5 separate regions of the Homo sapiens genome follow, and all the other regions are linked to region 5. Evidence: promoter capture Hi-C in 16 types of primary human blood cells and fetal thymus (Javierre and others, 2016). All regions are on one chromosome and are shown on one strand. The core of a region is centred on a gene start or on the middle of the fragment in contact, and the rest is flanking DNA. Distances in the headings are between cores, read along the strand shown.

Region 1 (3,135 bases), core at 578-3,077, 450 kb before region 5:
ATGTTTCCTTTTTTGTTTAAATCTATATGTATAAAATAATATAGTGTGGCAACTTCAGAAATCAGGTTACTGATTAGCTTAAGGAAATTACCTTATACTACTAGTTTACTAGCTGTGTTTTTAAAAATCACTTGTTTGTTGTTGTTGCTTATGGTGTAGATCTTGTTGCTGTCTGTTTAATGACTTTTCTGGACTAATATTGTAGTCTGTATTCTGTGTCATGTGTGGTCACTGAAGTCTCTGCTTGGTGAGTTTAGTGGTCAGATGATGACTGGACAGAGATTCCTTATGCGTCTGAAAACAGTAAGTCTCCCAGTCTTTGCCAAGGGGCCTCCATGTGAGTGTTGGGAAACACTTTCAACACTCAGCCAGGCAAGTGACATGCCTTTCTCAGCCTTCACTTGCTTGTACAGGTCCTCAAATTCAGCCAGAGGTGAGAGCTGAGGGCCTCCTCAGGCCTTTCCTGAACATGTGCACAGCCCTGAGCATGCATGTGACCTTTTAGGTTCCTGGAAATATGTCAGAGATTTTCAAAGCCCCCATGGACATCCCATTCCCCAGCTCCTCCTTTTTGGTTAGTCTAATGTTTGCTCCAACTGTTATCCACCACCTTACGTAGTGTGAAGTTAAACATTTGTCTTTAATTGTTTTCAATGTCCCCAAGGGGAAAAAGCCTTTTCACCCTGAGAAAGTACTGAGTCAGGTTAAAAAAAATTAAAATAAAGAGAGTCTTGCAAGTGGGATCTTCCAGGGAATTACCAGACATGTCAAATAATGACAATTCTTTAGGATTGAGACTTTGAAAGTGTTCCAGCCCTGTTTTGCTCTGTCCGGTGGCTGCCAGGATGCTACTTTGCACTGTAAGTATAGGCTGTTCTTTTTCTTTTGAGGTGGAGTCTTGCTCTGTCACACAGGCTGGAATGCAGTGGCATGATCTCGGCTCACTGCAACTTCTGCTTCCCATGTTCAAGTGATTTTTCTGCCTCAGCCTCCTGAGTAGCTGGGCATGTGCCACCATGCCCAGCTAATTTTTGTATTTTTAGTAGAGATGGGGTTTCACCATGTTTGCCAGGCTGGTCTTGAACTCCTGACCTCAAGTGATCCACCCGCCTTGGCATCCCAAAGTTCTGGGATTACAGTTATGAGCCACCGTGCCTGGCCTAGGATGTTCTTTTTTTTTTTTTTTTTTTTTTTCCTTTTAGGCTGTTCTTTTTTAAGGCAATTAAGGAGCGAGGGAGTGGAAAATAGGAAGGGGCAAGTTAAAATGCCACAAAGCTTGCTGTTTTTAATGAGATTCAGTCATTTTTCTTGAATAAGTGCTCTGTTAATAATGAACTCTGATTAAATTTCAGAGTTCTAAAAAAGTTGATTCTGACCATTTTTTTCGGCCAGTTTTCTCATTGCTTTTATGGAGGAGAGAATTTTCAGAGGTCCTTATGCTCCCATTTTTGCTGATGTCACCTCTTGTATTAGTCAGTTCTCATGCTGCTAATAAAGACATACCTGAGACTGGGTAATTTATAAAGGAAAGAGGTTTAATTGACTCACAGTTCAGCATGGCTGAGGAGGCCTCAGGAAACTTACAATCATGGCAGAAGGGGAAGCAAACACATCCGTCTTCACATGGTGCCAAGAAGTGCCGAGTGAAGTGGGGAAGAGATCATCAGATCTCATGAGAACTCACTCACTATCATGAGAACAGCATGGGGGAAACCACCCCCATGTCTGTTGGGGGCTTCTGGGAATTTTTTATCATTCTTCAAAAAAGTCACAAGGAAAAAATAGTAAGTTTTCTACTTCTAGAAATGATTGTTTCTGATGTAATGCTTGGAACACCTGCAGCCATCTTGGGACCATGAGGCAACCCAGATTGACAGGTTAACATGCCGGGGCTGGCAGAATAAAAAGATGGAAGGATTCTGGGTTCTTGATGATTGTGTTGAAGTGCTTAATCAATGGCAGCCCTGGAGCTGCCATTTTTGTCATGGAAAAGAATACATGTCCTTATACACTATTTTGAGTTGGACTTTCTGTTATTTGGATCCATAAGTGTCATAACTGACACCATGAGGCTGGAGGAGTTTGGAAAATGTACATATATCTTCAGACATATTGCCATCCCCAACAACAGAGGGATTTGCCACTAAACACATATAAAGAGATAAATATGTAGATGTGTGCCTGTGTGTGCACACATTTGTGTATATATTATCTCTAGAAAGATTCTAAGAGACTGGTAACAATTCTTACCTACAGGGGCAAATTTGGAAGACAGACATACTTTTCACTGTTTGCCTATGTGTTTCAATATGTGTTGAAAGTGGTTAGGAACCTGACATTGTGGAAAATAAAATCAGCGATGGAGGGAGTGAACGCAGGAAAAGCTTCTAGGATGCCATGCAACAGGCCAAAGAGATGGAATTAATAAAAAGGAAGGATGACAATTCCTGAAGAACAAACCAGGAAGCCACCTTAAAAATGGAAAGGAAGTAACAATCGAAGGCATAAACTAATATTTTTCTGAGATGAGAAAGGATGATCAAAAGAGCTGAACTGTGTTTCAACAAAACATATTGAAAAATATAAAAAATATTAACAGAGTCTGATATTTCAATGCATCCTGGTGAAGATTTTATGTTTTGGGTAAATGGGAAAAGAAATTCAGTCTGAACTTGGATCTCTCCTTTATCAAGAAAATTGGGTGAATACTACAGCATCAATTCTTAAGTAGATTTTATGCCCATCATTGTTTTGGGAGACCGAGAGGTATGCTCTGAAAGGAAGATATCTTTTTTTTTTTTTTTTTGAGACAGAGTCTCACTCTGTCACCCAGGCTGGAGTGCAGTCTCGCAACCTCGGCTCACTGCAAGCTCCGCCGCCTGGGTTCACGCCATTCTCCTGCCTCAGCCTCCCGAGTAGCTGGGACTACAGGTGCCTGCAACCACGCCCAGCTAATTTTTTGTATTTTCAGTAGAGACGGGGTTTCACTGTGTTATCCAGGATGGTCTCGATCCCCTGACCTTGTGATCTGCCTGCCTCGGCCTCCCAAAGTGCTGGGATTACAGGTGTGAGTCACCGAGCCCTGCCTAAAGGAAGATATCTTAATCAATCAAACATGCTTGGGAAATGCTATAG
Region 2 (3,067 bases), core at 101-2,600, 490 kb before region 5:
GAATCCAGCAGCCCCCTCACTGCTTGTGCCCCTGCCCCCTGAATCTTTTCTCACCCTGGCAGCTAGAAAGACTGAAAAGACTGGTCACGTCACTCCTCTGCTCAGAACCCTCCAACAGCTCCTCTGCCTCCTCCTAGCAAGAGCCTATGACCTACACAGCTCAACATGTCCCCCCAAATCTCTCCTCTCCTCTCCTTCCCTCGCCTACTCTGTTCCAGCCACATTGCCTTCCCTGTTGCTTTTTGGACATGCCAGATGCACACCCACCTTGGCCCTTTGCACTTTTTCCCCAGAATTTTCTTCCTCCAATATCCATGTGGCTCACACCCTCACCTTTGTGATGAGATCACACTGACTTCGTATTCACAATTGCAATATCCCCTAACCCTGTGCTCCCTGTCTGGCTCAGCTTGCTCTGTTATGCCTCATGGTACTTGTCACCTTCTGTCCTATTTGAGTCATGATGCATTTGTCTATCATCTATCTCCCTGCAATGAACATCCCTGGGGTGGGGCCAGGGTCTGTTTTGCTTGGTGCTGCATTCCCATTGCCAAGAAGACCTCACAGGCATATCAAGCACACAGCAGGTGCATAACACTTGCTGAGTTTGCTGAATGAATCCCTCCTCTGTATCCTACACATCCAACTGGTCACCACGTCCTGTGCGGTAGATGTCCTTTTTAGCAGGTCCCCTGCACTTCACTGTGTTTGTTAAGCCTTGGCTTGCTCTGTCATTTCATTTTGCTTAGGTGGCGGCAGCAGCCCCTGACAGCCCCTGGCCTCACAGCCCCTGGCCTCAACCCATATCCTCTCCACTCTGCACACAGCTGCTGGGAGACTTTTCCTTAAAACTTGGTTTCTCTCCTTTCCCTTCTGAAAACTGTCAGTGGCTTCCTGTGGCTCAGAGGAATCAATCGAAACATGGTGCTGCTCACAAGGAAACACAACGTTTCTAGGGCCAGTGCTGTCTTTGTCCTGCCTTCCTCCAAATTCAGCCACGTTAAGCCTCAAGCAGATCCTCCCACATAGCTGGGCTTCTTCTGCCTTTCTGCCAGGACTTGCTGCTCCCAGGAGCCTCCTCCCCCAGTCCCTGCAGCCCCAGGTCAGGTGTCTCCCCACCCAGCCTGGCTCAGCTGTCCTTTCCCGTGCAACTACAGGTTCATACAATTTGCTATTGCTCCATCTACTCTATGTGACTCTTGGTTTCTTGAAGGCAGGTATGGGACTCTTTCTTTCCTTCTTTGCTTTCTTTTCTCTTTCTCTTTCTTTCTTTTTCTTTCTTTCTTTCTTTCTTTCTTTCTCTCTCTCTCTCTCTCTTTTCTTTTCTTTTCTTTCTTTCTTTCTCTCTTTCTGTTTTTAGAGACTGGGTCTTGCTGTCACCCAGGTTGGAGTGCAGTGGTGCAATCATGGCTCACCGAACTCCTGGGCTCAAGTGAGCCTCTTGCCTCAGCCTCCCAATTAGTTGGGACTACAGGCATGTGCCACTACACCTGGCTAATTGTTATTATTATTATTATTATTATTATTATTTTTGTAAAGACAGGGTCTTGCTCTGTTTCCTAGGCTGGTCTTGAACCCCTGGCCTCAAATGATCCTCCTGCCTCAGCCTCCCAAAGTGCTGGGATTCCAGGAGTAAGATACCATGTCTGGCCTGAGAAATTTTCTAAAAGGCATGTTTTTGCACTGTCCAATATGTTTTTCTTTTTATCCCAGCCTCTAGCACAAGTGCCTGACTCGAACGAAGCAGGGACTCTGAAATATCTTGAATGAACAAGTAAATGGCACTTGAATAGGTGGCCTCTAATGTGCAGAGGAAGGAAAAGGGAGCTGACGCTTTCCGAGTGTTCAGTACCTTCTAGGCACCATGCTGGGCCTTTTATGTAGTTCTCGATGAATCCTCATGGCATCCCGCTTTGCAGAATGATTCTAGTTACCCAGAGAGCAAGTAGCCCTTAGGGTCAGGACATGCATCTGAGTTGGTCTAGTCCCAAAGCTCCTGGTCCTCTCCTGACATCACTTAAACAGAGAAACAGAACTCCCCTTGGGCTTCTAGGGGCGCTGGGTTCAGGAGGCACAGCCACTCCCTTTGTTCTTCCTGGCAGCTGCCCCACCAGCAGTGAGCCCATCCCACCTCTGGGTTTTCTTTTTCTTTTTTCTTTTTTTTGAGACAGAGTATCGCTCTCTTGCCCAGGCTGGAGTGCAATGGCGTGATCCTGGCTCACTGCAACCTCTGCCTCCCAGGTTCAAGCAATTCTCCTGCCTCAGCCTCCCAAGTAGCTGGGAATACAGGCGCCCACAACCACGCCTGGCTAATTTTCTGTATTTTTAGTAGAGACGGGGCTTCGCCATGTTGGCCAGGTTGGTCTTAAACTCCTGACCTCAGGTGATCCACCCGCCTCGGCTTCCTAAAATGCTGGGATTACAGGCATTCGCCACTGCGCCCGGCAGCCTCTGGGTTTTCACAAGGCTGGTCTGGCGAGGAGGCTAGTCCTCCTCCTCTCTCCATAGGGGGCATTTCCCCTGGAGCTCAGCCTCAACTCAGCCTAGAACCTTCTCCAAGGGTGTTCCTGTGATTGCCTGCTCCACTGGGGTTTGAGGGGTGATAGCGGCTTCTGGAGTGTGCGTGCTCGGAGCATGCTTCATTCTGCTTACACCAGGCCGTGTGGCATTTGCTGGCCTGTATGTCCTCAAGGGCGCCTTGCAGGGCATGCCACATCAGGTTCAGCTCCACGTCCATCCATCCAGACTGCTCAGAAGGGCTGGGGTGGGGCTTGCTAGCTGGAGAGAGTATCAGAATGACCCCAAACTCCTGGGAGAAACCCTAAAGAGCTGCTTGGCCATCTCTTTCAACTCCTTCAAGTCTTTGCTCACAAAGTCCCTTTCAGGCTTGAAGTCAGATGATGTTGGTGCCCTGCCCAGGGGTCCCCAGGTGCTGTGTTGGCAGTCAGAGGCTAGCTGTTGCCCCTTCTCTGGACAACTGCCCTCAGTCAATGGGAGCTGCTTCAACTGGGTCCATGACACCTGCTTCCCAAGGGGACAGCCTGCAGCCAATGACAGACTGATGTGG
Region 3 (3,161 bases), core at 198-2,697, 410 kb after region 5:
TGTCTCATTGTGAGATTACAGTATGCTTAAGTTGGGGACGCAGTGTTATATGTGTTTTACATCACTTACAGGGCAGTGAATAGAAAGAACAGGAAACACCAAAGGCAATGCTGGAGCAACACAAGTATTAATAAATGCAGGCAGGCAGTATAGTATGGTGGTTAGAGTGTGGGCTGGTAACAAACCTGTTTGTGTTCTAATTCTTACTAGGCACTTTCTAGCTGGGAGACCTTGGCTAAGGTCCTTTTAAAAGTTTTAAATCCATCCAACAAGTACTTACAATGGATGTGTCAAAGACATAGAGGATGCACAGTAAACAAAGTAGACAGCACTTCTGTCCCAAAAAAGGTCTTTCCATAGTCCAGAAGACAAATTTGAAAAACTGAGGAAGGGCCAGGCTCGGTGGCTCACGCCTGTAATCCCAGCACTTTGGAAGGCGGAGGCGGACGGATCACCTGAGGTCAGGAGTTCGAGACCAGCCTGACCAATATGGTGAAACCCCGTCTCTACTAAAAATACAAAAGTTAGCCGGGCGTGGTGGCGCGCACCTTGGAATTGTTTGCGCCCGGGAGGCAGAGGTTGCAGTGAGTCGAGATCATGCCACTGCACTCCAGCCTGGGCGACAGAGCGAGACTCCGTCACAAAACAAACAAACAAACGAACAAACAAACAAACCACTGAGGAAGATCTTAACTGTAAAATTCAAATCATACCCACTTCCAAGCCATGTGTGGATTAAACGAGATAAGCCAACTAAAGCGATTACTCAGCTCAGTGCCTAGTATACAATTAGTGCTTAACAAGTACTAGCGACCGCTTGGCAAAGCAAAGCAGACTGAAGCGTGGGTTTCATTTCTCATCATGTGATAAGTGATAAAATGCTCTTAACCAGGTCGGCTCACCTGGCCTTTCCATTCGACCTAAATAACGTCTACTTACTTGCGTAAGGGAAGAGCTCTGGCCCAGGTCAGCAAGCATTTGTCAGGCTAGAGCCTCCGGGTGGCGCTTCTCGCCCTCAGTAACCGGTTACCTCCAGAACCAGGGCGCCAGCTCCGGCCATCCGCGGTTAAGCGGGAGCTCCCATTGGCTAATCGCACACTGAAACGCACGCCTTTTCCCGCCCCTGACGCTGCCGTCCAATGCGCGCCTCTCGACTCTGCTCCGCCCCGCCCCGCCCCCGTCGCCCTGCCTCCCTGGCGTATTTGCGCCATTGGTGGATATTCCGGACCGTGATGGTGGCGCTGCGCGTGCGCACTCGCTCCGAGCCCTGCTCCCGGGAGAGGGAGCTCTCGGGTCGGGGCTAGGGAAGGCTGACCCCGCTCGGCCCGGGTGAAAGGGCGGTGACGGCACTGGGTGGGGCCGAGCTCCAGGGCTGGCTGCTGGGCTGCTAAGGGAACTGTGAGCCGCTCAGAGCCGCGCGCCTCCCGGGCGGGGCGGGGCCGGCCGTGGGAGTCCGCGCGTGCCCGCGCCGAGCTGCCTGCTCCGGCGGCTTCGCTGCTAGCTCGCGGCGACGTCGGGCCGATTTTCCCAGGATGACAGAGCTGAGGCAGAGGGTGGCCCATGAGCCGGTTGCGCCACCCGAGGACAAGGTAGCGGCAGCGTCGGGGTGGGCGCGGCCGGGACAGCGGCGCATCCGGGAGGCCTGCGGGGGACGCGCGCAGAGGGGTCGTCTTGTTCTCTGACCCTTTGTCGCAGCCGACGGCGGCCCCGGGCCCGGGTAGCGCGAAGGGCCCTCGGGTGCCCGGCCTTCGCGGCGCGCGCGTCAGGGGTCGGCGGGTCGGGGTCCCGGCTCAGGGTCTGACTGAAGTGGCTCCCCCGGGGCGCAGGAAGGAGCTTCTCGGGAGTGGCGCACGGCCTCCTGCCTCGCTGGGCTGGCTGCGGGGACTCCCCTCTCCCCCAACTCCGTGAGGCCTTCCTGGAGGTGAAGATATGCAGAGCCTTCTTAGGGAGGCGGCTCCTCTGAGCGCAACTTAGGCTCTCCGTTCCCTTTTACAATGTTATTATTTTGGGGGGTGGGGGAATCAGGACAAGGCCATAGCATTTGCCTCCTGGGAGATGTAAATCCCTTCTTGGGCATGAAATCATCGGCTTTGAGCAAAGGGGTGTTACCCAGTGAGCCAGTCCGTCATCAGCAGGTGTTGGAGGGCGTCCTCCCGGTTGATGGGTTGTTTCCTGCACCGTGTGGGCTCTGGTGGGTAGGGGAGGAGAGTAGGAAGGAGGCCATCTTGGCGGGGACAGTGGCGGGGGTGACGGGTGGGGGAGTGGACTCCTTTGGGTGAAGTGAAAGATCTGTGTAGGGGAGTTAAGGAAGGTAGGGATTGGTTTTATTACTGTGGAGGTTGAATGGCAGTATAGGACTTTGTAGCAGTAGTTGTGCTTTCCGAGATAGCAGTGATCAGGAGCCCTGTGTTTGGGAAACTGATCAGACAGTGATGTGTAGAAGGGACTGAGGGAGCCTGGACCAGACTGAGGGAGCCTGGTTCACTCGGGATTGCCCATGAGTGACCTGTAGATGTTTTCTTTGGCCCACATATTGCCTTAAAAATCAGAAAGTTTCTCCTAACAATCTAAATTTCTTGCCTGTCTTAGATAATTGGAGGGTCCACCATCACTTTGTCACCTGCTCAATGGTTGGCTGGAGCTGAGGATCATCGGTTCCCACCAATCCCTGTTGCCTTACACCAGGCTCACGGCTTCCCCTAATGCAGCCTGTAACTTTTTGATGACTGGACGCAACGGACATTAGGGAGACACCCAGAAGGAAGAAAGCACAAGATTTGGTGACAGGATGTCAACAGAGCAGTTACACTAGGAGGAATGTTTTTGGTGAAAGATAATGAGATCATGGGTTTTTTTTAAACAACTTTCGTGTTATTGCAGTTGACAGTGGACTATCCAAAGAGAACTGTTCCTACCGATTTTTAGAACATATATTTTGGCCAGGCACAGTGCTGCTCGCCTGTAATCCTAGCTTCTAGGGAGGCTGAGGCAGGAGGATCGCTTGAGCCCAGGAGTTTGAGACCCTGTCTCAAAAAACAAAAACAAAAACATATTTTGGAGAACATTTAGGGCTGGGGCTGAGGATTTAGCAGTCGCTTGCAGAGACAAGATACTTTGAAGTCTCTAATTTTTCATTTGGCTATCCTGGTTCAGCCTGAAAG
Region 4 (3,397 bases), core at 785-3,284, 380 kb after region 5:
AGACACAAGGTCTCGCTATGTTGCGCAGGCTGGTCTCGAACTCCTGGGCTCAAGTGATCCTCCTGCCTCGGCCTCCAAAAGTGCTGGGACTACAGGCGTGAGCCACTGCACCCAGCCAAAATGGCTTTTATCCAAAAAAAACGGCAATAACGAATGCTAGCGAGGACGTGGAGAAAAGGGAACCCTCGTACAATGTTGATGGGAATGTAAATTAGTATAGCCACTATGGAGAACAGTATGAAATAGAACTACCATATGATCCAGCAATCACAGCTAGGTATATACCCAAAAGAAAGGAAATCAGTTTATCAAAGAGGTATCTGCACTTCCATATTTATGACAGCACTATTCACAACAGCCAAGATCTGGAAGCAACCAAAGTGTTCTTCAACAGACAAGTGAATAAAGAAAATATGGTACATATATGCAATGGAGTACTATTCAGCCACTAAAAAGAATGAGATCCTGTCACTTGCAACAACATGGATGAAACTGGAGAACGTTATGTTAAGTGAAATTAAGCCAGGCACAGAAAGACACACTTTCCATGTTCTCACTCATTTGCGGGAACTAAAAATTAAAACAATTGAACTCATGGATATTGTAGAATGATGGTTACCAAAGGCTGGGAAAGGTAGGGGGGAATGGGGAAGGTTAACGGGTACAAAATATAGTTACATAGAATGAATAAGCTCTAGTATTTGATAGCACAAAGTGACTAGAGAATAATTTATTGTACATTTAAAAATATAATAACTAAGGCTGGACGTGGTAGCTCACGCCTGTAATCCCAGCACTTTAGGAGGCCCACGCGGGCAGGCCGCTTGAGGTCAGGAGTTCATGACCAGCCTGGCCAACATGGCAAAAACCCATCTCTACTAAAAATACAAAAATAAGCCAAGTGTGCTGGCTTGCCACCATAGTCCCAGCTAACTCAGGAGGCTGAGGCAGGAGAATCACTTGAACCCACGAGCCGGAGTTTGCAGTGAGCTGAGATCCTGCCACTGCACTCCAGCCTGGGTGACAGAACAAGACTCTGTCTCCAAAATATATATATATGTATGTATGTATGTATGTGTATATGTATATATATAACTAAAAATAGGCCAGGCACAGTGGTTCATGCCTGTAATCCCAACACTTTGGGAGGCCAGCCTGGGCAACATGGCGAAACCCCATCTCTACTAAAAATACCAACATTAGCCGGGTGCGGTGGCGCACGTCTGTAATTCCAGCTACTCGGGAGGCTGAGGCACAAGAATAGCATGAACCTGGGAGGCGGAGGTTGCAGTTAGCCGATATTATGCCACTGCACTCCAGCCTGACTCTGTCTCAAAATAAATAAATAAATAAAAGTATAATTGGAATGTAATACAAATGATGAATGCTTGAGGGGATGGATACCCCATTTAGCCTGATGTGATTATTATGAATGCATGGCTGTATCAAAATACCTCATGTATCCCCTAAGTATATACACCTACTATGTACCCATAAAAATTGGAAAAAAAATTGGCCAGGGGCAATGGTTCACACCTGCAATCCCAGCACTTTGGAAGGCTGAGGCAGGCAGACTGCTTGACCTCAGGAGTTAGAGATCAGCCTGGGCAACATAGTGAAACCCTGTCTCTACACAAAATAAAACAAACAAAAATAAGTAAATAAAAAATAAAATTAGCTGGGTGTGGTGGCACACACGTGTAGTCCCAGCTACTCGGGAGGCTGAGGTGAGAGGATCGCTTGAGCCCAGGGAGGTAAAGGTTGTGCCACTGCACTCTAGCTTGGATGACAGAGCAAGACCCTGTCTCAAAAAAAACAGACCACTGGGACGGACAAACACACACACACACACACACACACACACACACACACACACACGCACACTAGAGCCTTGGCTAACATTTTAAAAATCTCACAACTTATTCCCACATGCCCGTCAGCTTACCCCTTTGCTGATGTAGCCTGACAGCAGGAGGGAGCCTATAATAATGAGAAAGGCGCCAATCAAAAACAGCACAGTGGCAAGTGCGATGGCCTTATAAGGGATCTTAGGAGGGGTTTTCTTAAACTGGAAGAGAAATAGAGATGAAAAAGACAACGAAGAACATTAATGCAAATACCTGGGTTCAAACATTTAATTAATTATTTGTAATTTTTATGTTTTTGTTTGTTTGTTTTGAGATGGAGTTTCGTTCTTGTTGCCCAGGCTAGAGAGCAATGGCGTGATCTTGGCTCACTGCAACCTCTGCCTCCTGGATTCAAGTGATTCTCCTGTCTCAGCCTCCTGAGCAGCTGGGGTTACAGGTGCCCGCCACTACACCCAGCTAATTTTTTTGGTATTTTTAGTAGAGACAGGGTTTCACCTTGTTGACCTGGCTGGGCTTGAACTCCTGACCTCAGGTGATCCGCCCGCCTCGGCCTCCCAAAGTGCTGGCATTACAGGCGTGAGCCACCGCGCCCGGCCTAATTTTTATGATTTTAGAGACGGAGTCTTGCTCTATCACCCAGGCTGGAGTGCAGTGGTGCAATTACAGCTCATTGCAGCCTCGAACTCCTGGGCTCAAGCAATTCTCTTGCCTCATCCTCTCAAGTAGCTGGGACTACAAGTATACGTCACCATGCCCAGCTAATTTTTAAATTTTTCTGTAGAGACGAGGTCTCACTATGTTGCCCAGGGTGGTCTCCAACTCCTGGGCTCAAGGGAGTCCTTCCACCTCTGCCTCCCAAAGTGCTGGGATTACAGGTATAAGCCATCAAGCCCAGTCTCAAACACTTTAAAACAGGGAGGAGAGCTCGCACCTGTAATCCCAGCAATGTGGGAGGCTGAGGCAGGCGGATCACTTGAGTTCAGGAGTTTGAGACCAGCCTGAGCAACATGGTGAAACCTCGTCTCTACAAAAAATACAAAAATTAGCCGGGCGTGGTGGCATGTGCCTGCAGTCCCGGCTACTTGGGACGCTAAGCTGGGAGGATGGCTTGAGCCCAGGAGGTGAAGAGGCAGCGAGCTGAGATTGCACCACTGCACTCCAGCCTGGGTGACAGAGCCAGAGCCTGTTTCAAATACAACAACAGCAAAAACAGGAGGGTAATTAAGAACCAAACTAGATACTTTATGTGTCTTAAGTATGTCCTACCACCCAGTGCAGCTCTGAGAAATAAAAGGGACTGGCAAGAGATGAAGCTCTAGTTATTGCTCTCACAGTTACTCAAAGGAATCTCAGAGGAATGTCATTCACTCTAGTTCGAATCTCATTCCATAAATCATTCATTGTATCATAAGAAACTTTTCTTTAAAACAAAAACAGAAATGACTTTACAGTCATTCATTTGTTAGATATATATTTATTAACTGCCTGGCACATAGATGGCTGTACTAACTTATGGGGATTTAAGAGAT
Region 5 (3,242 bases), core at 505-3,004:
TTGCCTTGTTTGCAGCTTCCAGAGCTCCTCCCTGCTTCTGTAGCAATTTCAGTCTTCCCCATTCCTCTGTGCCTTTGTAAACAGCCTTTTGTTCACTAACAAGAGGAATCTGCTGCCACGTCAGCTCTAAACCAACCTCCCACCATTCTCTGGGTAAAGTCCTGCTTAGAAAGGGAATAGGAAGAAGAGGGGTGGAGGGGGTTGGAGATGATTGTGTCTAGTGGGAACAGGCAGGGGGATAGTGCACAGAGTTCACAATGGGACAACGAGCCTGCCGAGGCTGCACTGCCGGCCTGGCTGGGTGACCTTGAGCCTATCTGGGCCTGTGAGCTCACCATGCAAAGGAGCTGGACCACAGAATTCTGAGTCCTTTCTAGCTCTAAACACTGTGGCCCTAAGTATCTATATGTGAAACAAAATTGTCCTGACATTTGTCTCTGGGTACTGAACTATTAGGAGATTTTGATTTTTTCATCTCCATTTTGCAAACAGTCTGTACTAAGATTACACTACTGTGTTTCTGTTTTGTGTGTATTCAGAAGCACAAAAAGTCTGTGGTTCTAGAAAGGAAATAGAAAAGTTCTTAAAAAAAAAAAAGTGGGGAAGTGAAACAAATGTTAAAGTCAGAGGAGAAAGAAAGGCCCAACCGGAGGCCCCAAATCCACCCAGAGCCCAGAAGCCCGGGTTTCCCACCGACCGGCTGCGGTCTTTGTCAGCTCTCTGGCGCTATCTGCTGTCCTTCTCGATAACAACCGTTTAATTTGGTTTGCAAAATTGCTCTGACGCAAATCCACCGTGAACACTGACGGGGTCACATTCAGCATAAAAATCGCATTCTGTTTACAGGAAAATCTGGCCCCATACTTGCTCCCATATTCACTTTTGACTTTGCCTTGCAGTACTAACTGTAACAGGGACACCTGAGCAAGTCCCTTCTGTATAAGGCCCAAAATGGTCACCCAATACCAATGAGTCTCTTGCTTTGGAAAGCCCAGGAATGCACCTCCAGCCCCTTCTGCGCAGCGCTCGGACACCATGTAGAGGAGAAGGCACTCTGCAGAACTCGCCCTCAGCCCGCACCACCTGTCCAGGGGACTGGCTGCGTGTCAATGTGTCTCTGCTCCCGGGGTTCCCGCAGATCTTTAACTTATTGGCCTTTGGGCTAATTCAGTCCTTCAAGCATTCCTCGCCCAACATGCCAGGAAGTCTTCTCACGTGTCTTCCACCCCATACCTACCAGTTCTGTTTTCCCACTACCCGATGAAAGTGTAACCGCCCCCCGGCGCCCCCCCCCCCCACCACCACACACACACCCTGTTGGTCCCATCCTCAGGGCGTGGTGGTCCAGGTGAACGCTTGCCCTCTTTTTGAGCTGAACCTCCCCACAGAGGCTGTCAGCAAAGACTGCTTTGCTGTCCAAGGCCGGCCTTTAGGTACAGGACACTATGCATGTCCAGCGAGGCTTGTTGAAGCCACATCTGTCATAGATATTGATGGGAAAAGCATTTTCCTTCTAACACATCTCATTCCAATTCTAAAAGGCACCTCTGAAGCCTTGCTGAACTTCATCAAGATTTTCACGTGGTTTCCTTAGTAAAGTGTGATGAGAAGGTCCATCCTTCTCAGGATGAAGGAGTGGTCCAGGAAGCCCTGATTGGTCTGCCGGGGAGGGAAGGGCTGCCTTATTTGGAGACCTGCAGGAATGCCACCTCCCCCGGCAGCTCCTATATAGCTGGGCGGACCTGGCTGCCAAGAGGGTGTGCTGGGGGACTGTGCAGCTCGAGGCTCCAGAGGCACACTCCAGAGAGAGCCAAGGTACGTGGGGGGCCACTTCTGTGGTCAGGACTGCTGGTTTCTTATCAAGGCTCGATCCCAGATTGAAAATCATGCAATGATTTCTTTACTCCCACACCTGGGGATGGGTCCCAAGTTCAGGGTAGACTTGCGAGGATACCCAGTCATCACTGGGCTTGCCTTTCTCTAAGTTGGTGCTATAATAAAATGCTACTTTAGGGTTTGTGGGTTGGGATTTTGTTTTGCCTTTAAGCTTCTGCCTATGAAAACTAATCTCTTTCTCAAGAATGCTGTGCTTTTATTTTTTTTATTTGACTCACCTGAAATGATCTATTATGCCATTAATCTTATTTAAGATTTCTCCTTAAAAAAGGAATGATGTGGAGTATGGCCCTATTTAGGAGACTAATGAATATTTGCTTCATGCTTGGATCTCTTTGGAGAAAGTCAGTCTGAGTTCACTGTGCTCAGGAGGCAGAGAGAGTGGGGTGAGGGGGTCCAGATGCTCATAGCCACCCTGGGACAAAGACGAGGCGATGTCTACAAGCAAGGAAAGGTCAGTGAGGCCTCTTTGCAGGCTTCTAGAGATGACTGGATGTGCTTCTAGAGATCACTTCAGCTGTGTTTTGCCTTTTTTTTTTAATATAAGGAGCAATGTGGCATCAGAGTTGAACATTTTATCAGAGGAACATTAGCCACTTTTAGGGAAGCTGCAGCAGGGTGGTGGAGGGTGTGTGAGGGGCGAAACAAGCTCCCTGTCAGCCTCCTCCAGCTCTGGGGCCCCATGGCCTCACAGTAAGTCTTTGCCTAGGAGACAGCTTAGGCAAGCTCCGGTATGGGAACTCCTTCCATTTCCCTAATCCACACAGGCAAAGACCCAGGTGCTAGAATGCCCTGACAGTCGGCCTTGGGAAGTGGATTTCCTTGATGGCTATTGTAGATTCAGGAGCCGAATGTGACAGGCAACCTTAAGGTGTGGGGTGAGGGGCTTTTCCATGACATCAGTGGCAGCCCTTCGGATGTCCCAGGGCCACCTTGACCCGGGACCCTCCTGGTGTTCCCCCAGGCCCTCCTGTCTTCCCTTTCATCTCGTTTTCTCCGAAATTCCTCAAGGGCCCTGCCCTTTGCCCTTTGCCCAGCTCAGGGGGCATCATACCCAGTGAGTGAAAAGCACAGTGTGTGAGCACTGTCTTCTCCTGAAACCCAGATGGGCAGTGGGGCATGGCTAGTGGACACATGCAGTGCAGCATTAGACAGAGCCCAGTGCAGGTCTGCCACCTCCCCGCTGTGCAGCCTTGGGCAAATTACTTAACTTCTCTGAATCCCAGGACAACATTTATAACATGGGGATAATAATGTACCTACTCTATGTGAGAATTAAGTTAGGCAATGTCAGAGAAGAGCTTAACACGGTGGCAGGCATGAAGAAAGTATGCAATAAAAAGCCA

What was found. The method cuts DNA at HindIII sites, captures the fragments that hold promoters and counts their contacts. A CHiCAGO score of 5 or more calls a contact.
Region 1: a contact is called between a fragment that was not itself captured here and the fragment with the promoter of PRND in region 5, in 1 of 17 cell types (M1 macrophages). The highest score is 5.2, in M1 macrophages.
Region 2: a fragment that was not itself captured here is called in contact with the fragment with the promoter of PRND in region 5 in 6 of 17 cell types (M1 macrophages, endothelial precursors, megakaryocytes and 3 more); the score reaches 11.6 in M1 macrophages.
Region 3: the fragment with the promoter of CDS2 here is called in contact with the fragment with the promoter of PRND in region 5 in 1 of 17 cell types (total B cells); the score reaches 5.1 in total B cells.
Region 4: a fragment that was not itself captured here is called in contact with the fragment with the promoter of PRND in region 5 in 1 of 17 cell types (total B cells); the score reaches 6.9 in total B cells.

The regions. Positions count from the first base shown.
Region 1 is chr20:4,272,150-4,275,284 of GRCh38, forward strand. No RefSeq gene overlaps it. Among named protein-coding and RNA genes, the nearest start is that of ADRA1D, 24 kb to the left of the region's middle. The HindIII fragment of the contact is 1,109 bases long and covers 1,274-2,382 here.
Region 2 is chr20:4,229,767-4,232,833 of GRCh38, forward strand. All of the region lies in intron 1 of ADRA1D (adrenoceptor alpha 1D), which reads right to left. Among named protein-coding and RNA genes, the nearest start is that of ADRA1D, 18 kb to the right of the region's middle. RefSeq lists an enhancer at 2,544-3,044. The HindIII fragment of the contact is 3,609 bases long and covers 1-3,067 here.
Region 3 is chr20:5,125,561-5,128,721 of GRCh38, forward strand. It overlaps CDS2 (CDP-diacylglycerol synthase 2), which reads left to right and starts at 1,448. Exons shown (of 13, transcript NM_003818.4): 1 at 1,448-1,589. The coding sequence starts at 1,533. It also overlaps a transcript of PCNA not described here. RefSeq lists a silencer at 937-1,856 and enhancers at 1,119-1,620, 2,197-2,286. The HindIII fragment of the contact is 13,373 bases long and covers 1-3,161 here.
Region 4 is chr20:5,104,243-5,107,639 of GRCh38, forward strand. TMEM230 (transmembrane protein 230) reads right to left here. Exons shown (of 4, transcript NM_001009925.2): 3 at 1,946-2,068. Among named protein-coding and RNA genes, the nearest start is that of TMEM230, 7.1 kb to the right of the region's middle. The HindIII fragment of the contact is 4,635 bases long and covers 1-3,397 here.
Region 5 is chr20:4,720,155-4,723,396 of GRCh38, forward strand. PRND (prion like protein doppel) reads left to right here and starts at 1,755. Exons shown (of 2, transcript NM_012409.4): 1 at 1,755-1,815. RefSeq lists an enhancer at 458-677. The HindIII fragment of the contact is 8,148 bases long and covers 1-2,045 here.